7 separate regions of the Homo sapiens genome follow, and all the other regions are linked to region 6. Evidence: promoter capture Hi-C in 16 types of primary human blood cells and fetal thymus (Javierre and others, 2016). All regions are on one chromosome and are shown on one strand. Each heading gives the region's core, a stretch centred on a gene start or on the middle of the fragment in contact. The rest is flanking DNA. Distances are from core to core; before and after follow the strand shown. Region 1 has its middle 140 kb from the start of MIR802. Region 2 holds the start of CHAF1B (chromatin assembly factor 1 subunit B). Region 3 holds the start of LINC01436 (long intergenic non-protein coding RNA 1436). Region 4 has its middle 78 kb from the start of LINC01436. Region 5 has its middle 110 kb from the start of LINC01436. Region 6 holds the start of LINC01426 (long intergenic non-protein coding RNA 1426). Region 7 overlaps SETD4 (SET domain containing 4).

Region 1 (3,104 bases), core at 172-2,671, 1.1 Mb after region 6:
AACTCAGTGCCACTCACTTCCAGGACTGTGTCCTCATTGAATTTGTCCTGAGGAAAACAGGTGCCAAGTTCCATCTTGACTTTATTAGATGTGAAAACATAGTCAGAGATGAAAGGAAAGGTCACCTCTCCTGGGCAAATAAACTTTCTTTCAGTAAGTCCCCAGGAGATGGATGTGGAGAGCCCAGGGTTTTCCACTTTGAAGTTTAAAATTCCCAGAAAGAGACACTATCCCTAAAGCCAAACCCAGGAGACGGGCTCGAGGTGCCTCCGAAGGCAAAAGCCAGTGGTCTGCTCCATGCCCATGAGATTCAGGGGCTAGAAACAAATGAAAGCCATGATTAAAGTAATTTCATCTATGTGTTTCCAGAGACTAATTATATTTATTGCATCTGACACCAGTCAGGGACAGCAAACATCTTTTGTGAGCCTTACAACAAAAGTTGAAAAGCATTACTCATAATGGCTGATTTTGTTTTATTACATCTGACTCAAAGCCAAAGGTAGACAGCACTTAGAGCTCTCTGTGGACATTAATGTTTGAATGCAATACAGATAGCTTCCCTCTCTGGCTTCCCACCAGCACCCACACATGCTGCCCTCCTGCTCTCAGTATGTATGCAAGTGGTTGTGGAATAGAGAGGCAGTGAAATAGCTCCAGAATTTGTCATGCAGCCACCATATCCCAAGCACATTGCTAGGCACTGATCCTCATAGGTCGATAAAACAAGAGACCCTGCCCTCTAGGGATGCACTGGGCTGGACAACAGCCCACCAACATTACCCTGTAAGGGCAGTATTATGTGCCATAACACAGATAACGTAAGAGTGGGATGCGAAAATATCAAGAAGGAAAGAGTGAGCTCTAGTTGGGAAAAATCAGAAAAGGGGGTGGCATATGAAATAAGCCAGCAAAGAAGAGGTTATGTATTAGGCAGCCACAAATGGGAACTAAATTCTTGGTGCCAAGGACAGCAAGCAAGGTGAGAAACCGAGGAGGGTAGGGCATGTTCAACTAAAGCTTAACATGGCATGTGTTCATATGGGGAAATAGCACATGGTGGCACAGGAACGACGAAGCATGTGGCTGATGGCCTTGAACACTACCTGAAGAGTGGGCCTCTGTTTGAGAGTAAGGAGCATTCATGACCTTGAGCACAGGAGTAAGCTGCAAAGAGCCACACTCTAAGTAGGTTAGTGCAGGAGTGGTGTGAGGTACCCAGGCCGGCAGGGCTTTTAAGAAATTGCCTTCAATGGCCTGGTTGAGAACCACTGCTCCAGAACACAGTCACGCCTGGTGCTAGGGTCTATAGTATTGCTTCAGTGCTACCAAAATGAATATGGTGGGCTTGGTAAGTGTTAATCTGCTGCCTTAAGAACCTATCATAGGTCCATAGATAAATGCAGTTTCAAGCCAGTGCCTTATAAACAACCTTTGAAGACAACCCATTTGTGAGTTATATACTGCCTTCCAAATGATGAAGATTTGCTTCATATCTTTAAGGGGTGTTTCCACTTTTAAAGAGAACTTGCAATCTATTAGAAAAGATGGCAGAATTTTAGACAAAGGATCCAGAAGCTCCATGCATGAAAGTATTTATGTCTACCTGCTCCCATGACATAAGGACAAGAACATAACTCACCATGGAGGTCCCCACTGCTACACAGCAGCCTGTCTATAAGAGCCTTGCACACACACACACAAAGTGGTATGTCTTTAAAATCCATAAAATCTTCACAGAGTTAATTTTACTGGAAAATTGTTCTCTCTTTTTAGAACATTAGTCCCTAAGGACAGACTACAGGGAGAAAACACTGTTTTTATAAGCTTGCCTAAGAAAATTATTACACCCCAAAGTCCATCATGGTTATGAAATTCCATTGCATCCGTCTCTTGTTTATTTACTTTGAAACCAACATTCTAAATCTACTTGGGATACTCAATGCAAAATAATACTAGTTCTGTTTATTTTTATTTGGCTTTAAAGGAAAAAAGTAGGGGAAGAAGAGGGATGAGGTCTCAGTTAATGATCAAGAAAATATGGCAGAAGTTGACATCTACCTGAGATAAATCAAGATCAAATCTTTGTATCTCTTCTTTGTCAATGGATCCTTTCTTCTTTCCAAGCAATACATTTATGTCTTTCTAGATTGATAATTAATATCCCATATTAATTAGGCTCATGCCTATAATCCCAGCATTTTGGGAGGCTGAGGCAGGAAGATCACTTGAGCCCAGAAGTTGGGGATGAGCCTAAGCAACAAGGGAAAACCCTGGATCTACAAAAAATAAAAAATTAACCAGGCATGGTGGCGCACAACTGTAGTCCCACCTACTCAGGAGGCTGAGGCAGGAGGATTGCTTGAGCCCAGGAGGTCAAGGCTACAGTGAGCCAAAATCACGTCACTGCACTCCAGCCAGGGTGAGAGAACAAGACCCCCTGTCTCAAACAAACAAAAAAAAAAAAAAAAAAAAAAAAGACTCAACAGCCACTGGTCAAAGTAGCTCAACCTGAAGATCTCCCTCTGGTCAAGGATGGGGCAATTTGAACTCTCATAAAGATGAGAATTGCAATGGATTAAAACTGATCAAATAAGTTTAAACCCATGAGTTCATAAAGGTATTTTTTCAAACCTACTTGATAAACTTTTGAAAGTCAACAGCATTATCTTGAAAACTTAGTAAATACAAGGAAAACGTAAAACATTTATTTTAGATTCCTTATGAACTAAGCCAGTAAATAACCAACTAGTAGATGAAAGAAAGAATTTTCTAATAAAATCATTACAGCTAATAAATCAAAGCAGAGTGACAGAATCAGAAATCAACAGTCTGCACCCTGCAGTGAAAGAATGGATCTAGGCAATGTGCATCACATCTGCCAACATCAAAAACAAGGAGCCAACAGGCATGTGAAAGAACACAGACTCACCTACAATCCGCCAGCCCAGGAGGCTGAACCTGAGGCTGTTGAAGCTTCTGGATCCAGCTGCCAACTTCTAGGAGGTCAGAAAACCGAGGAGCATGTTAACCTGCAACATGAGTGCCCAATCAGCCAAATCCAGATTGAGAACCACTCCGTGGGTCAAACGGCCCAGGTTCTT
Region 2 (2,902 bases), core at 224-2,723, 1.6 Mb after region 6:
ATTACAGGCGTGAGCTACCGCGACCGGCAGGAATTCTTTAGTCCAACATTTGTGGTGCAAACTTTGAGGTTTTGAACAAATACTTTTTTTTTTTTTTTTGAGAAAATATTTGACAGCCCAGGGCCTCTCTCTAGAGCCGCATCCCCTGCCCGTGTTGGCTCATCAAGTTGGCACTGAAGTCGGATCTCTAAAATGTTCGCCAAGAAAGCCAACTCCTTCATGTACTTTTAATACTTAAAGCATGTGTTTTTATCTTTTAAATCCACAGTTCAGAGTCGTGACACTTCAAGAGGTGGGCAGATTATTCATTTGTGAATGAACAGCATTTATGAGAAATTTGGAGAAATTTTATGTTTGAGAGACACGAAGAATCCAGAGCTTTCCAAAACAGACTGATGATCACACCCACCGGGGAGTTTATGAAAATGCAAGCCCCTGGAGCACGGGCCTCTGCTGGATATTCGGAATCATGGGGCTGAGTAGGGCCAGGAATCTGTACTTTTAGAACAGCCATATTATCTAAAGTATATAGTCATTCCCAGTCCAAGCTCTGTAAATCCTGAAGAGAAAAATCTAAAAACTGCATATCCGGATTATGTTATTCTAGCTTCCTGTAGAAATCAGGCTTCAAGGAGCATACAGCCATTCTCATCAACATGAGACACGGATTTGTAGGCAATTTCTGTACCTTTCATAAAGCTGGCTAAAAGCATCAGCCGGTATTTATATAAGAATCCATGTCTGTTCTTTTTTTCCAAAAATCCTAGAGCAGTTGGCTCCTCAGATAACCCTGTGTGTTTCTTTTATCCAGTAAAAGCAGCGCATCCAGAGGTACTTGTTTCCTGGCCTTCTGCGAAGCCCACAGATAAATTAGGTCTCATTTGGAAACGTCCCATTTCGAAAAGCCTGAGGTATCTATCTCTGCCTACCGACTGATTTACAGCCTCACTTTAAAATGTTAGTCTGTTCTTAAAAAGGGTTTATAACTGCATCTACTATAATAATAAAATGTAAGCAACCTTGCGCTAGGTACTGAACAATTTCATAGCTTTGAACTCTCCAAAATGTTCTAGAAGCCAATACAGAAAACCCAAAAATCTCAGTTTTTGTTTGCAGAAGGGGCAAGAGAACCGGTTGTGTTAGCCCTCCAAGTGCCCAGCGCCAGCATAGGGTCTGTCTAACACACAGCCCAGGCTCTGTAAACCTTTGCTAAAAGAGCGAATCAACAAGGAATAAGTAATGGATAATAATAATAAATAATAATGAATCCATTCTTCCTTCGGTCGTGGGTCTGGCAGGCATAAATTCCGGCCGGGATTCCGACCCCAGGGCCAGAGCAGGACTCGCCTTGGCGTCTATGAGTGGGCGGGGCTTCCCTGGGGTACCGCCCACGTCGGGCGGGACCTGAGGGCCGCTGGAGGGGCGGGGCGTCTATGAGGTCCCGCCCATGCGGGGGCGGGGCCTGCGGCGCGCGGGAAGCGGCGCGCGCTGCGCGGGAGGTGACGGTGCCTCTGACTGTCCGGGTCCCTCCAGGTACGGCTTCCCTGGCCCGGGCAGCTCCGCGGCTCTTTTGGTCGCGTCGGTCCGGGCCAGAGGCCCTCGCCGAGGGCGGGCCCCTGGGCCCCGGGATAGCTCCGGAGCGGCGCGCGTTGGGGCGGCGGGGCCCCGTCCACCCCCGGCCCCGCGCGGCCTCCTCCCGGCGGCCTCAGTCCCAGCTTCCCGGGCCCAGCGCCCGGTCCCTGGGAAAGGCGGGGTTCTCCTCTCGCCCCGCCGCCCCGGTCCCCTACCCCGTTTGGCCCCCTCTTCCGGGAGGCTCCTCCCGGGGCGGGCCCCTCCCCGGGCTCTCAGGGCGCGCCCCTAGCCCCTACTAAGCGGGGACAGGCCGTGCAGACGGCCGGGGCCCCTAGGTAGCCTTTACCTGGGTGTTTCGTTTTGCTTTTCTGGATGTAGCGGCGTATCATAAACTTGTGGATGTCAGGACCCAGCGAAGCATTTTAGGTGGAGCTAGCAAGGTGTTATTGTCAGATGGCAACGTTAACATCCTTTCCCAATGCAGTGTGCATTTTAAATGGCTCCTGGCCCCTATTCAGCGCTCAATAACCCTTTGCTGCTGTTAACACTGTTGTTTAATCCATCACCAGCATTTTGCAGCTTTCTCCTGTCTTGAAGAAGTAGAACGGTGCCCGAGAAACGTTTTTCCCCTTCGAGACTCAGGAGGATGAAAGTCATCACTTGTGAAATAGCCTGGCACAACAAGGAGCCCGTGTACAGCCTGGACTTCCAGCATGGGACGGCTGGGAGGATCCACAGACTGGCGTCTGCCGGCGTGGACACCAATGTCAGGGTAAACTGGGGCAGAGATAGACATCCGGGAACACTGCTTGAAGCAATAGTTTTCATTCTTTTACTTAAAACCAGTGTCGGCTGGGCGCGGTGGCTTACGCCTGTAATCCCAGTGCTTTGGGAGGCTGAGGTGAGAGGATCGCTTGAGTCCAGGAGTTCGACACCAGCCTGGGCAACAGCCAGACATGAAAAAGTAGCGGGACGTGGCAGTGTGCAGCTGTAGGCCCAGCTACTTGGGAAGTTGAAGTGAGAGGATCGCTTGAGCCTAGGAGTTTGAAGCAAGCAACGATCACTCCACTGCACTCCAGCCTGGGTGACAGAGCCAGACCCTTCTCTTAAGTAAATGAATGAATGAATTAACGTATGTCAACAAACTAAACTACTTTGTCATCTAGCCCAGAATGCTAAATTTCCAGGGCCTGCGGTGAACAATGAAAGCAAAAGAGAGCTGCTTTCTTTTTTTTTTTTTTGAGACGGAGTCTTGCTCTGTTGCCCAGGTGGGAGTGCAGTGGTGCAATCTCGACTTACTGCAACCTCTGTCTCCCAGGTTCAAGCTATT
Region 3 (2,991 bases), core at 140-2,639, 1.3 Mb after region 6:
TTAGCTTCTGATGGGAGAAAAAAAATGTGGATACAGCATTTAATAAATAAGGTATGAGAGCTTTTCACTCAATATCCTTATGATCCAAAAATCTGCTGCTGCTAAACTTAAAAGCAATTACTGTTTTATAAACAGTGAGACATAATTCAGAAGGCACTTAATCCAACATGTGTAAAATCTGTGTAAATCATCAAAAGTGACTAGCTGATGGAGATTTCTGGTTTCTGGCACTAAATCGCCATTGGCCTATGGTTCTTAATATTTTCCTTCGTCAAGGTACACGACTATAAAACTCCATGAGGATTGACAAATACCTCTTTTGCAAATGAGCTAACGTAAAATACCTCTTTTGCAAATGGGCCAAGAGGCAGTCTATAACATATGATCATTTAAGGGAGAGGTAAGGTCCTGGAACTAAATTGTCCTAAATTGTGTTAAACCACATGCCCACGACAGACTGAACTCATCCCTACTGATAGATTTTTCTGAAGAGTATAGTGCACAGCCTTTCTGGCAGCTCACAACACTTCTACCAGGCACTCCACAACTGACACCATCAAGGTGAAAACATGCAGATGCCTTCTTAGCCTAACCAATACCATTAGCTCAGATTTCCCATTTATCTTTTTATCCTTTATTATTTTCTCCTTGCTTCCAGCATTGGATTACTTTCTTTTAAGTCATATTTCTTTATATAACTACACTTTCATCCAATGCGTGCCACCTCCCATGGAACTTGTCTCTTTTTGTTTTTTTGTTTGTTGTTTTTTGAGACGGAGTCTTGCTCTTATTGCCCAGGCTGGAGTGCAATGGTGCGATCTTGGCTCACTGCAGCCTCCACCTCCCAGGTTCAAGCGATTCTCCTGCCTCAGCCTCCCGAGTAGCTGGGATTACAGGCATGCGCCCCCACGGCTGGCTAATTTTGTATTTTCAGTAGAGACTAGGTTTCTCCATGTTGGTCAGGCTGGTCTCGAACTGCCGACCTCAGGTGATGTGCCCTCTCGGCCTCCCAAAGTGCTGAGATTACAGGCGTGCGCCAGGAAGTTTTCTCTTTAAGCTTCTCCTGTGCTGGAGAGTTATGGTGACTAATATCTACTAACAATCATTAGCCAAGTGTGATGATAGAAAAGAAGACATAGTTGTGAGTGAAACACAAAAAGAAATAGCGCATAGTACAGACTTTTTTGGAAAAATATTTGTATACTTATGACATATTTTACCATAAGGCACCTGATTCAACACAAATATGGCTGGTGATGGCATCGAATCGGGAAAGCACTCATTGTTAACACCCCCTCTAAAGTGCGAAAAACTCAGGTCATTTTCTCTTGACAATGGCACTGAGGTTCTGAAGAACTTCCACAGACAGGCCCTGTACTCTCCAATTTCTTTTCTAATTGCTGTTACCAAATGATTGACCCAAAAAAGCAAAATATAGGAACATTAACTACATTCTCTTACTGGTAATCTGATGGCATTTTACCTCAGTAAGGAATATTTACAGTGAGCAGTATAAAATATTATATTGACGTCCAATTTCCAAGTGAAAATGACTTGTTCACGGGGTTCACCGTACGCTTATTTATAGGCAACTCTGGTATGAATTATCATCATTATTCATTCATTAACTCATTCAACAAATATTCCTTGAGTTTTTACCAGAAACTACGCCTGGTCCTGGGAACACATTGCGAGATATGCAGACAGGATCCCAGCCTGCAGGAAGCTTCAGTCCAGCATCAGCACTAGAAGGGCAGCAGTTTAGAAAGTGAAAGACTTTACCCAGAGCTTGGAAGCTGGTGCCGGTGGTGGGGGCGGGAGGGGGACGGGGGAGGCAGTGGGGGAGGCAGCAGTGGGGGAGGAGGTGGGGGGGGAGGAGGCGGGGGGGGAAGAGGCGGGGGGCAGGCGGGGGGGGGAGGAGGCGGGGGGAGGCGGGGGGGAGGAGGCGGGGGGAGGCGGGGGGGAGGCAGGGGGAGGCAGGAGAAAGGGGGGGAGGGGGAGGCAGGGGGAGGCAGGGGAAAGGGGGGAGGGGAGGCAGGGGGAAGCAGGGGAAAGGGGGGAGGGGGAGACAGGGGGAGGCAGGGGAAGGGAGGAGGGGGAGGCAGGGGGGGCAGGGGAAAGGGGGGAGGGAGAGGCAGGGGGAGGGGGGAGTCGGGGGGGCCGGGGGAAGGGGTGCGGGGGGGGTGGGTCCGTTGGTGGTATGTGAATAACTCCTCCTCTCTTCTCAGGCCCAGTCCCAAGGCGCAGCGTGCGTCAGCAAGACAGCAGAAGCAGGAGGAGAGCTGGCGGGAAGACATGCACCCCTTGAAGACCCAGAGAGAGGCCGTCTGTCTACCGCGTAGCAGTTACATCAGACTGAGACACTTCCTGTTTACAGGAGACTATAAAATTCCTGCCCCGTGCTCATTTGGGGCTGACGCCATTTTAGGCCTCAGCCCATCTGCACCCAGGCGCTCACTGAAACAGTGTGTTGCTCCACACCGCCTTGTTTTGCTTGTTGGCGCGCTCTCAGGGTTCCGACCAATCCAAGAGCCTTGCAGAAAGCATTAACGTGCTTTTCTCTTTGGCAGAGTTTTTCTTTGCTCTGATCTTGGAGACATCCCTCTGCCTAGTGGAAACATAAGGAATACAGAAAGAATGCAAGGAGATAGACCAACGTGAGATTCTCCTTCATGCACTCAAGAGAAAGATGTTGCAGGAAGAGCTAGTCTTTCAGGCTGGGCTGGTGACCTGAGAAAGAATGTCCAGCTTTTCTTCTCCACTTGGCATATCAAGAGCCAGGCGTGGAAGACTAAAACAGGAAATGTTTATAAAAACTGTTCAGCGGTTCGCCAACAAGAAGTGGTAAAGTAGCAAAAATGGGGATGGAGATGCCAGGAGGAAAGATGCCAGGGGTAAAGTGGGAAAATGGGAACCTGAAGCCAGGAGGTCAAGCCAAGCCAACAGGTGTTCTGTTTTTCAGTGAGTATATCCTGTCTTTCCCCATGTGTC
Region 4 (2,792 bases), core at 220-2,719, 1.2 Mb after region 6:
CCCTCCCATGGCCGACTTCGAACTGGCAAGCCTGGCAGACATACACACAAGCTAGAAAGACATTTCCTGTAGATACAAGAAAAAGAGGGAGTTCTACCAGGAAACCAATGGCCACAGAGAATTTTTGTTAATTCATTCTTATATATAATAAATAGATTATTTATTATTAATAAATAATCTATTTATTAATTATAATAAATAATCTATTTATTAATTATAATAAATAATCTATTTATTAATTATAATAAATAATCTATTTATTAATTATAATAAATAATCTATTAATAAATAACTTGTTTATTAATTATAATAAATAATTTATTAATAAGTGATTTGTTTATTAATTATTAATAATTTATTAATTATTAATAAATAATTTATTTATTAATTATTAATGATTTTTAATTATTAATTAATATTAAATTTATTTATTTATTAATAGCCTGTTGGTATGTATTTAAGAGCAAAATAACAGTGGCTGTCAAAAACACCCTACATCCTGTCCAATTAGAGAGACCATAACTTATTTAGATCACAAAAAGACCACGATTCTGAAACCTGAAGTCTAATGAGCTGAATTATGTGCTTAACGGAGAAGACTCATGGATGAGCCCTCTTGCAGCTTCTGTTAACCTTTTCTGAAGGCACTGGGTCCTCCACAGATCCTGACTGCAGGCAGAATGGCTGGAATGATGAGATGCCTGTCTTGTAACCAAGACCAGGACATAAGCAGATGCCATTCATCCAGACCCACTTTCTTCCTTGGACCACTGTCTATATAAACAGCCTTTCTGTTATTTCCAGTGTGGCATTACAACAAACCAGACACATTTTTCAGGGCACATTGATCTATCCCAAGGGTGTAGGTCTATTAATTCCCTCGAGGCTGACAGTGGATGCTTCCAGGGAAATCTGAAGGCAAGCACACAACTGAATTTAATGAAAATGATTGATTTTTTTTGGTCCACCCCAAGTATCAAAAAGAAAACAGGCCAGGCAAGGTGGTCCGCACCTGTAATCCCAGCATTTTGGGAATCTAAGGCAGGAGGATAGCTTGAGCCTAGTAGTTTGAGACCAGCCTCGGCAGCATAGTGAGACCCCATCTCTACAAAAAAAAAAAAAAAATTAATTAGCTGGGCATAGTGGTGCTTGCCTGTAGTCCTAGCTACTGGGAAGGCTGAGGTGGGAGGATCACTTGAGCCCAGGAGTCTGAGGCTACAGTGATCAGTGATTCAATGATTGCACCACTCTACTCCAGCCTGGGCAATATGGTCTCTGTGAAAACAGAAAATAAAAAATACAACAAACAGCCATTAACAGACTCAAATTGGTTGGCAAGAGTCAGATCCCACATCAGCTAAAATTGCCACATGATATAAAACACTAAATAATAAATGTTTACCTTTATTAAACATTCAGACCATTTCTGGTTAAGAAAACCCTGAACCTTTTTCACTGCATGGCTTAAGATGCAGGTAAGCTAACCATCATCCTTCCTTTCTCTTGGCAACACTTACGCATACAGATCGGTAATGCCCGTCCCACTGCAATAAAAAAAAAAAATACCACATCGACTCTACATCTGCTGCAATTATCGTCTGGTGTGAAGATCAAAGGGGCCTTTTCCCCTGGCAGATTACTCGTCTACAGTTCCCTGGCCTGTCAGTGTGGTCTCAGCTGCTCCCACTTGTCCCATTGCTGCTCAGGAATCAGCAGCCGCCTAGATCTTCCAGCTATGTGACTGGGCTCATAATGACAGTAATTGCCAGTCTGTTAAGTCACCTCCAACCAAAAAGGAAAATGCCTTCCAGACACACTTCTCAGGCCCATGTGAAGAGATAGGAATGAATTCATAAAAGAAAATTATCCAGTCCTGTTTATACAATGCCACTATGACCAACAGGCTTTTTTCTTATTAATGGCTTTCATTTCTGGGCCACACAGTGGAACAAAGCGCTTATATGTCCACTCCTTGAGACCATTAAGTCCTTGACTTGCTTTGACCATTAAGAAGCCCAAAGAGAGGTGTAGGTCTACCCTTGTACCAGTTCCTCTCTCCCCAAAGTATTTTTGGGGCTGGGGTTGCCTTTGGGATTATACTTGCCCAGAAAAGAGACCATCTGGGTTCTTATCTGCAATGGGAGCTACATGAGATTTAAGCTACGTTCCTTCTCATTTCCTCACTACTTTTCTGTTTACCTTTGATCCTTGTTGGTTATTGTAGGAAGACGTGATTGGTATGGCAATGGGATAATATGTATGACAGTTTCAGTCTTATTTTCCCAGTACAACATGCCAGTTGGATAATTCCTCTGAGTAAATATTAACATGAACATTTTCAATATAAAGCCCATTAGCATCCACAAAACTTTGGAATTGTATGTATATGTTGGATTATACTTTCACAGAGGTGGATTTAAAGAGGTGAAATTTTGGCTGCAATAAAAGATTCATTCAGCTGGGTGTGGTGGTTCACACCTGTAATCCCAGCACTATGGGAGGCCGAGGCGGGTGGATCACGAGGTCAAGAGATAGAGACCATCCTGGCCAACATTGTGAAACCCTGTCTCTACTAAAAATACAAAAATTCGCTGGGCATGGTAGCATGCACCTGTAGTCCCAGCCACTCAGGAAGCTGAGGCAGGGGAATCCCTTGAATCCAGGAGGCAGAGGTTGCAGTGAACTGAGATTTGTGCCACTGCACTCCAGCCTGGCAACATAGCAAGACTCCATCTCAGGAAAAAAAAAAAAAAAAAAAGATTCATTCATTAATGTAATCAGATAATGTACAC
Region 5 (2,851 bases), core at 257-2,756, 1.1 Mb after region 6:
TTATTCATATCTCCTGCTCCAAAGTTTTCCATTGCCACATATACAGGTAATGGTATTTTGCACAAGAAGATAAGCATGATTCAATAGAGGTAGGAGGGTCTGGTAATCAGCTACAACATCAATTGCAATATATGATCACTAGTAACATTCCCAACAGGTGTGGCCCCACCTCTTCCTCTGCATGGAAAACAATTAATGGTATCTTTTTTGCTATCCTTGGATTGTGACTAAAGTATGAGGTGCTTTCATCATAATTAGAGGTGCTGTGTCACCAGGATCTATGTTAATGAGCAACCAGAACTTCCTGGAAGATAATAGCCCAAGAAGCAACCCACTGTCATCAGTGAAGAAGTGACTCTGGGAAGACGTTGGTGCTTGGTTGGTTTCCTGAGCCCGGCCCAGCCCAATCTGCAATATGTAGAGACCGCAACTGAAAAGGGAGGTTGTTTTCACTAACAATATCCAAGGCACTGAGGAAGGGGTGGCTCTGCTTCAGTGACCTTTCATGAAGTACACACCAGGTGAAAAGAGGAATTTGCTCCACAAAAAACTACACAGCTGTGGCTCCTAAGGGCTCCAAGTATCATCAGCACAAGCAGAGGAGATGGCGCCCAGGGCAGCAGCAGAGTGGCCTGGAGGGCAGGTGTCGCTCACCCCAGGGGTGGCAGATGGTCTCAGGTAGACCTGGATGACAACGGAGGAGTCTCTGCTGGCACCTTCCCAGGCATCAAGGAAATAAAATGGCAGCTGCCACACGGTAACTAAGCCCTGGAACCATTTAGGAGAAAGGTTTCTGAGGGCCAATGTCCCAAAGCAGCTAGAAAAATAAGGTCATCAATACTAGTGTGAACCTCTTTTAAGCCCCATGAGTTGTAAGATCTTAACCACAGTCTACAACTTCAAACTTTTTCTAGGATGTAAAAATTGTGGCCTGGTGGCACGGTGGCTCACGCCTGTCATCCCAACACTTTGGGAGGCTGATGTGGGTGGATCACAAGGTCAGGAAATCGAGACCATCCTGGCCAAAATGGGGAAACCTCGTCTCTACTAAAACACAAAAAATTAGTTGAGTGTGGTGGCACACGCCTGTAATCCCAGCTACTTGGAGGCTGAGGCAGGGGAATCACTTGAACCTGGGAGACAGAGATTGCAGTGAGCCAAGATCATGCCACTGTACTCCAGCCGGGCAACAGAGCAAGACTCCGTCTCAAAAAAAAAAAAAAAAATTGCAGACACACTGAAAGCTTGTGGGTTCCTCCAACGGGCAGCTCAGAGATTCCTTCTTCTCTGATCTCTCTTCAGAATCAGGTTTCACCAGCTTAACCTGAGACTTAAAGGTGCTGAAAAATGAAGGTTTCAGGTGAATAAATGGGACTGCAGAACAGAGATTGGCAGCTATCATTATAACCTAGTGCCAAAGGGGTTAGACCCATGGGTTCCACCTGTCTGGTGAATAATCACCTTCACTAAGAAGATGGTCATCTACCAGTTATGACCTGACATCCTACTCAATGCCTTCGAGTAGGAGAGTATAAAGAGTATAAAGAGGACTAGCTATCACTTCTCAGCTTTTGGCTAAGAACAAGTGAAGGGCACCGGCTTTGGAATTGTAAAGATATGAATTCAAATCCCAGTTCTTCTATTTGCTCATAGTATGAATTTTAACAAATTAGGTGACCTCTCTGCTTCTTGGATGCCTCAGCTATCACACAGAATATATCTAATGGGATATTTTGCAGGACTATTTTTCAGCGTTAAATTAAACATGTCAAGCTTCTAACAGAATGCCTGACATATAGTAGTTGCCTTAAAAAAAAAAAAAAAAAAGTAGCTACTGCTATTAACTAGCCAACTTTCAACAGCTCCCCTTATACATAAAGTGGGCATGAAAGCAAATTAGAGCTGGATCCTACTAATGGGGGGCCAGGAACAGTAAATGTGTTTGGAAAGCCATAGGATTTGAGAGAGAAAATCTCACAGATGGCATGATCCAATTCTATCATTTTTTAGTTATAGAACAGAAGCTAAGTGTCAAAATTAGGCCATGCGGTCAATGAGAGACAGAACAGAACACAAATCCATGCTTGGCTATGGTTATGGGTTGAATTGTATGTTCCAGAATAAGATATGTTGGAGTCCTACCCCCAGAAGCTCCAAATGGCCTTACTTAGTAGGATCTTTACAGAGGTCATCAAGTGAAAAGGAGGTCCTTCGTATCATTCTCATGCCTTTGCATTCTCATAGCTTAGTTCCCACTTATGAATGAGAACATGCGATGTTTGGTTTTCCATTCCCCTGGGGGAAAGGGTGGGAGGGGGTTGAGGGATAAAGGACTACAAATTTAGTTCAGTGTATACTGCTCAGGTGATGGGCTCACCAAAATCTCACAAGTCACCCCCAAAGAACTTACTCTTGAAACTACATACCACCATTTCCCCAAAAACCTATGGAAATAAAAAAATAACAAATAAATAAAAGGAGGTGCTCAGGAAGGGCTCTAATCCAATATGCCTGGTGTCTTTATCAAAAGGGGAAATTTGGACACAGAGACATGCACACAGGGAGGACACCCTGTGAAGACTGGAGTTACACTGCCACAGTCAAGGAATTCCAGCAGGTAGAAGAGAGGTCTGGAGTGGATCTTCCCCTGGCACCTTCACAGGGGACCTGGTCCTGCAGACACCTTGATCTCAGACTGCTGGCCTCCAGAAGTCTGAGCTAATACATTTCTGTGGTTTAGCCACTCTGGTTTTGGTATTTTGTTTAGGCAGCCTTAACAAACTAAAATAACTACTTCCCAGTCCACTAAGCCACCATACCAGTAGTTTTCCAATTCTGTTCCGTTGGCCCC
Region 6 (3,028 bases), core at 174-2,673:
GTGACCACTGCTATGAGGACTTTCCCACTGGCTCAGGCTCAGTTAGTCGAGCTGGTGTGCCCCGCTCTTAGCTGTTCCCCAACTCTCCTAGAGTGTGCTAATTCTGACCCAGCTCTCCCAGGTGGAGGATGCTTTTCAAACATGTCCTTGGGAACCTCTGCAGACCCATTCCCAGCCCATTCTCCATGATTCCAGGCCTGGCCAGGTTGAAAACTTCTGTAAATTAAAACTCAAATAAAGAGAGTATAGCTTGGGCATACCTTTTGCACATGCATATATATGTATGTGTGTGCATGTGTGTGTGTGCATGTATGTGTGTGCATGTATGTGTGTGCATGTGTTGGGATTTTTTATTTTTTAAATTTATATTTATTAAAAAAATTTTTTTTGAAACAAGGTCTTCTTCTGTCTCCCAGGCTGGGCTGCAGTGGTGTGATTATGGCTGACTGCAGCCTCAAACTCCTGGGATCAAGCAACCCTCCCACCTCAGCCTCCCAGAGCACTGGGATTACAGGTTTGAGCCACTGCACCTGGCCTATTTAAAAAGTTTGTCTAGAGCAAAAAGTCCCTAGACCTGCCAGTCCAGGGCACTAAATCACAAGAACACCAAGGCCAAACAGGCTTGAAGTCTCCAGGCTCCTCACTGGCAAACTCTACTTCCTGATCCCTTAGTGGGTTGAGGTGCCAACAGCCCCCTGGGGAGGAGGGGGTTGCATTATGGCCGTGGAGAGACTCTGAGCCTTATCAACGGTGTGGGGATGACACCCTTTTCGGAGCACTTTGTGAGGCTTTGTGCCATGCTGGGCGCTTGGCGTCAGAGACAAATAGAATCAATAACTGTGCAAAAAAAGTTGCCAGATAATTTATCCCATTGGCACCGAGCCTAGAATTATAATCAGATCTTGACTTCTTCAAAGCCTTCTTGCTTTGGATTTTCCAAATCGAAAATAAATATTGGGGGCAATTACCTTTCCTTAGTTCTCTGATGTATGAAGGGGAGTTTTCATCTATTAATTTAAGAACCCTCTCATTTCATTCGGAAGGTATTAGCCCATGGAACTTGTTAACTTAATATCAACACAGTCTGTCTAGGTTTTGACTGAAAAGAGAAAGGGGTTGTTATGCTCTAGGTTAATATTTTCCTCTCTTTAAGAAGTCTTGGGTATGCCAGACACTTCTCGGACAAAAACAGCTGTTTTCTTCCCATTGCTGAACGCATTGTTTGTGCGAGTTCACTTACTTGCTATACTCAGAATATCCTCCAGGAGTCAGCAAATCCCAACCTCTGGACGTGGCTCAGGGCCGCCCTGCCCATTGCTGAGCTGATTTGGAATTTGGGCCTGAGAGAGGAAGTGATTATTGGATGACAGGCTGCCTCCTAGGGGGCTTCTCTGGGCTTGCCATGAAAGCACTTCCGGAGGAAAAGCAGAGCTCCATCAGTCTCTTTTGGAGAGCTGTGAACGTGACCAGACCTATTAATTACTTAACTGAGGTGCTGAACTTTGAAAATGAAAGTTCCGGTGGGGAGTTCTGTCCTTTCCAGCCTGGGGAGCTCTGTCAGGGCTCTCCTGAGCGTCTCTTTCAGCTTATCAAGCTCGCTCGGGGACCGTCTCTGGTAAGTACAGGCAACCCCTCCAGCCAACCCCTCCACCCTGTGGGCCGGGGAAGTGTCTCATCGTTGAATCCACTTGCAGGCACTTCCTTGATCTCAAGCCCCACCACGCTGCCCCCAGAGTCCCAGCGAGTGGCTCAGTCACACTGGTGCGTGCCTCTCACCCGCTCTGACCTCGTCATGGGGTCCCCGAGGTGCTGGTTCATGCAAGGCTCTGTGCCTAACCAAGCTAAACACGGTGGGGCTGGGAGCAGAGGCTCACACCTGTAATCCCAGCACTTTGGGAGGCCAAGGCAGGTGGATCACCTGAGGTCAGGAGTTTGAGACCAGCCTGACCAACATGGTAAAACCCCGACTCTACTGAAAATACAAAAATTAGCCAGGCGTGACATCATGCGCCTGTAATCCCAGCTACTCGGGAGGCTGAGGCAGGAGAATCGCTTGAACCTGGGAGGCGGATGTTGTGGTGAGCCAAGGTCGTGCCACTGTACTCCAGCCTGGGTGACAGAGGGAGACTCCATCTCAAAAATAAATAAATAAACAAACTGGTACAGTGCCCTAGTGGCTTTGTGGCTCTGGCTGGGGGAGGAGGGTGGGTTGCATAACTGAGCAGCACCTCCAAGCACGATACCAACACTGCCCAGGGCCTGGCAGAGTCTACAGCTGGTCCTTATCCATGAAACTGGGGGTGAGGGGACGGGGACTGGCGGGGGGACAAATCACCTGCACAAGTGGAACAAAGATACAGGAGATAATGACAGCAAATGGAACGTAGAGTTGATGCGTTCATTGACAAAGAATTTCACACCCTGCATTATCTCACTTGAGCCCCATGAAGAGCCTGTGAGGTGGCTAGGGATGTGGAAGGAGTAGATAGGAGAGGCACAGAACAGGGGAAGGAAGGAGTGGGGCTGGGAGTGAGGACCAGGAAGGCAGAGCTGGCCCCTGGACAGGAAGAAAGCCCAACTGCCTCCCTCCCTCCCATCTGCCCTCCTGCCTGCCCTTTTCCAATAAGATGGAAATGCTGAAGGGGTTAAAAAGACAGCATTCTAAAAGCTGAGATCCTAAAATTGTGACCTCCCCTGTGATCTTAGCCTTCGTGTCAACAGCATTGAAAATGAACCTTGGTCGGGCACGGTGGCTCACGCCTGTGATCCCAGCACTTTGGGAGGCCGAGGCGAGTGGATCACCTGAGGTCAGGAGTTCAAGGCCAGCCTGGCCAACATGGTGAAACTCTGTCTCTACTTAAAAAAAAAAAAAATTGCCGGGCATGGTGGTGGATACCTGTAATCCCAGCTACTTGGGAGGCTGAGGCAGGATAATTCCTTGAACCCAGGAGGCAGAGGTTGCAGTGAGCTAAGATTGTGCCACTGCACTCCAGCCTGGGCAACAAGAGTGAAACTCTGTCTCAAAAAA
Region 7 (2,849 bases), core at 156-2,655, 1.3 Mb after region 6:
TGCCTGTAATTTCAGCTACTTCAGGAGGCTGAGGCAAAAGAATTGCTTGAACCCAGGAGACGGAGGTTGCAAGGAGCCGAGATCGCGCCACTGCACTCCAGCCTGGGCAACAGAGCAAGACTCTGTCTCAAAAAAAAAAAAAAAAAAGGACGTTTTATCTACTGAAAAAAAAAAGATACCATTCCTTAGCCTAAACATATGTACACATCTGAGTGCAAGTTTTAAATAGAGAATTTAAAATAAGATAATTTTTAAATAAAGGAAGAAATTAATTTCTGGCTTCACAGAAAATCGTGCGCTAGAGATCTTTAAAATAGCATTGGAAGAATGAAAAGAAACCTTGGAGGCTGTCATTTACTTCCTCATTTTGTAGGTGAGGAAACAGGAGCCAAGAGTATGAGGGGTCTCATGCTGGGGCCTCAGGCAGCTGAAGGCAACTCTGGCCCAAGTCTGAGGCCTCATCCTCCCCTAGCTCTGGTTTCTACCTGCCACATCACGACTGCCTCACAGACAGCAGCAGCTCCCTTGGCATACTGAAAACGTGATCTGACATGTAACATGTGCTGTGGCAGAGATTGCTAGTTGCCTATCCCAACACGCCTTCTCTCCCCCTCCTCGCTAACGGAATCCTACTTAGAGGGCACGTGGCTGGGGAAAGGCCAGCACGGATCTCCTCCCTTGCAGCTGGCTAGGGCTGTGTACCTGATCACTGGCCAAGGACAGAGGGACTGGAATTTCCTTAAAGGAAGGAAGCCTGCCCTTCCTCACCCGCTTGCTCTCTCCTGATGCCCAAGTTCCAAGACCCACAACCTGACCTGAGGGTGCAGTTCCCTTAAGGACATGAGAGAGCTGGAAGGAGTTGGGGCCTCTGCCAGCCATGGGACTGCCCCACCAGCCAGGGTCAGCCTACTCCAAGCTTGTTTCTATGAGTGAGAACAAAATAAATTTCCATGCTGCTTAAGCACCTCAATTTTGGGCTTGTCTTTTATTGCAACAAACTTAATCCTAGTTGATAGAACCATATTCAAATATATCTATTAGGTAAGTAAGAAATGACTGTATGTCTGAAATTTTTTTAATTCACTTCGTTTGAACCGCAAAAACAAAGCAGCAAAATCTACATTGGGTTTCAAGGATCAAAGAACAGTTCTCACCTGCAGGGATGTTTGACTCATCAGCCCTCTTCCTGTACCTAGGAAAGCAAAGACAGAAAGAGAGTAAATCCTACCATAACTTCAAGGTCCCAGAGATAACTATTATGGAAAAAAAAAATGTGAACTTCAAAATTACACAAGGCTGAAGCTGGATGTCTCTCAGCCTTTGATTCCCAGGGGAAACAGGGAGTCAGAAAGCTATTCCAGAAAATGTCTTGACCTCCAGTGAGTTATAATCCTTGAAGGGCAGTCAGCTTCAGAGGTGAGACCTAAAGAGCACCGTGGACTTTATACAGACCTACTGCTGGGCCTCCTGCAGGACGCTTTGGGCTGGACTCTCTCCACTGGGGCCTACCAGCTAACAAGGTGCTATTCCCAATGCCCAGCCAACCTCTGAGGCTAGAGCCCCAGGCCACTTATCCCCATTACCAGACTCAGCTCTCCCAAGTGAAGACCTTGAGACCCCTTTGATTGGCCGACTGGCCAATAAACCCCACTCAAGTCCCCACAAAGCCTGCAGACATCCTCCCCTCTCTGATCAGGTAACCCATGAGATGGGCTCTCCATGACCTGGTGAGCTCAGCTGGGTAGGTCAGCTCCAGCTGTTCCCTGTGAGCCAAGGCTCCGGCTGGAGCACAGTCACCATAGTAACCTCAGCAGCTGCATTAATACCAATTAATTCAATAAATTCCTTTATTTAAAAATTAATACCAACTTCCAGAAGTTTCTCCCTTCATGCCTAAGCTTCTGCTCCTGGAACAGTCAGACAAACATTGAAAGGATGCTCAGATGACAGCTTTTCTGGCAGGCATAGGTATTACATGGTCATAAGAGGCCTAGAGCATTAACGTCTCCAATTCATCGTTCTTCACCTTTCCTCTCTTAGCTGGGAGGGAAAATAATTCAGCCAAGTCAGTGCAGGACTACTGGGAGCTCCCAGCTCACGGTGGCTCACTGCCTCAAGTCCTCCATCAGTTTCCCGCAACTTGGATTTGATGCTCCCGGCTCATGGTGGGAATTCCTGCCTCAAGTCCTCCATCGGTTTCCTGGCAGGTTGGATTTGATGCTCCTGGCTCATGGTGGGAATTCCTGCCTCAAGTCCTCCATCGGTTTCCTGGCAGGTTGGATTTGATGCTCCCGGCTCATGGTGGGAATTCCTGCCTCAAGTCTTCCATCAGCTTCCTGGCAGGTTGGATTTGATGCTCCTGGCTCATGGTGGGAATTCCTGCCTCAAGTCTTCCATCAGCTTCCTGGCAGGTTGGATTTGATGCTCCTGGCTCATGGTGGGAATTCCTGCCTCAAGTCTTCCATCAGCTTCCTGGCAGGTTGGATTTGATGCTCCTGGCTCATGGTGGGAATTCCTGCCTCAAGTCCTCCATCAGTTTCCCAGCAAGTTGGATTTGATGAGTCCCAATTCATCTCCCCTCCCAGGAGGACACTGTCTGCTTATACAGCTGGTTCTAGTGTTAACTTATTTCATTGATTTTGTGTACCCCATTGTGGAGTTAATCATCCCTGTGCTCCAGAACTCCTCCTAGAATCAATGACTAATGGGAAGATTTTCTTCTACCTGGTTATCCTTCCAAAAACTTACGTGCTAATCTAAGTGGAAATTCTCTCCAAACATATATATGAACAAAAGCTGGCCTATGGAATACATCTAGAAGATCCTTTACCTATATTTATATGGTAGAT

The links. Contacts are between HindIII fragments. The CHiCAGO score rates a contact against its expected background, and 5 or more counts as called.
Region 1: a contact is called between a fragment that was not itself captured here and the fragment with the promoter of LINC01426 in region 6, in 9 of 17 cell types (naive B cells, monocytes, naive CD4 T cells and 6 more). The highest score is 9.2, in naive B cells.
Region 2: a contact is called between the fragment with the promoter of CHAF1B here and the fragment with the promoter of LINC01426 in region 6, in 1 of 17 cell types (neutrophils). The highest score is 8.4, in neutrophils.
Region 3: a fragment that was not itself captured here is called in contact with the fragment with the promoter of LINC01426 in region 6 in 5 of 17 cell types (neutrophils, total B cells, monocytes and 2 more); the score reaches 9.9 in neutrophils.
Region 4: a contact is called between a fragment that was not itself captured here and the fragment with the promoter of LINC01426 in region 6, in 2 of 17 cell types (neutrophils and monocytes). The highest score is 6.3, in neutrophils.
Region 5: a fragment that was not itself captured here is called in contact with the fragment with the promoter of LINC01426 in region 6 in 1 of 17 cell types (total B cells); the score reaches 5.2 in total B cells.
Region 7: a contact is called between a fragment that was not itself captured here and the fragment with the promoter of LINC01426 in region 6, in 2 of 17 cell types (neutrophils and total B cells). The highest score is 5.8, in neutrophils.

What each region holds. Positions count from the first base shown.
Region 1 is chr21:35,861,353-35,864,456 of GRCh38, forward strand. No RefSeq gene overlaps it. Among named protein-coding and RNA genes, the nearest start is that of MIR802, 140 kb to the left of the region's middle. The HindIII fragment of the contact is 807 bases long and covers 1,019-1,825 here.
Region 2 is chr21:36,383,919-36,386,820 of GRCh38, forward strand. It overlaps CHAF1B (chromatin assembly factor 1 subunit B), which reads left to right and starts at 1,474. Exons shown (of 14, transcript NM_005441.3): 1 at 1,474-1,533; 2 at 2,142-2,344. The coding sequence starts at 2,219. RefSeq lists silencers at 1,306-1,675, 1,706-1,805 and enhancers at 1,925-2,426, 2,427-2,902. The HindIII fragment of the contact is 16,320 bases long and covers 1-2,902 here.
Region 3 is chr21:36,002,905-36,005,895 of GRCh38, forward strand. It overlaps LINC01436 (long intergenic non-protein coding RNA 1436), which reads left to right and starts at 2,416. Exons shown (of 2, transcript NR_110419.1): 1 at 2,416-2,961. It overlaps LOC101928269 (a long non-coding RNA gene), which reads right to left and starts at 1,763. Exons shown (of 6, transcript NR_110418.1): 1 at 1,660-1,763. The HindIII fragment of the contact is 669 bases long and covers 1,056-1,724 here.
Region 4 is chr21:35,925,835-35,928,626 of GRCh38, forward strand. No RefSeq gene overlaps it. Among named protein-coding and RNA genes, the nearest start is that of LINC01436, 78 kb to the right of the region's middle. The HindIII fragment of the contact is 3,480 bases long and covers 1-2,792 here.
Region 5 is chr21:35,893,093-35,895,943 of GRCh38, forward strand. No RefSeq gene overlaps it. Among named protein-coding and RNA genes, the nearest start is that of LINC01436, 110 kb to the right of the region's middle. The HindIII fragment of the contact is 529 bases long and covers 1,243-1,771 here.
Region 6 is chr21:34,744,402-34,747,429 of GRCh38, forward strand. It overlaps LINC01426 (long intergenic non-protein coding RNA 1426), which reads left to right and starts at 1,424. Exons shown (of 3, transcript NR_038885.1): 1 at 1,424-1,615. RefSeq lists enhancers at 1,303-1,804, 1,805-2,304, 2,511-2,805. The HindIII fragment of the contact is 11,220 bases long and covers 1-3,028 here.
Region 7 is chr21:36,052,429-36,055,277 of GRCh38, forward strand. It overlaps SETD4 (SET domain containing 4), which reads right to left. Exons shown (of 12, transcript NM_017438.5): 4 at 1,155-1,192. Among named protein-coding and RNA genes, the nearest start is that of SETD4, 6.7 kb to the right of the region's middle. The HindIII fragment of the contact is 982 bases long and covers 915-1,896 here.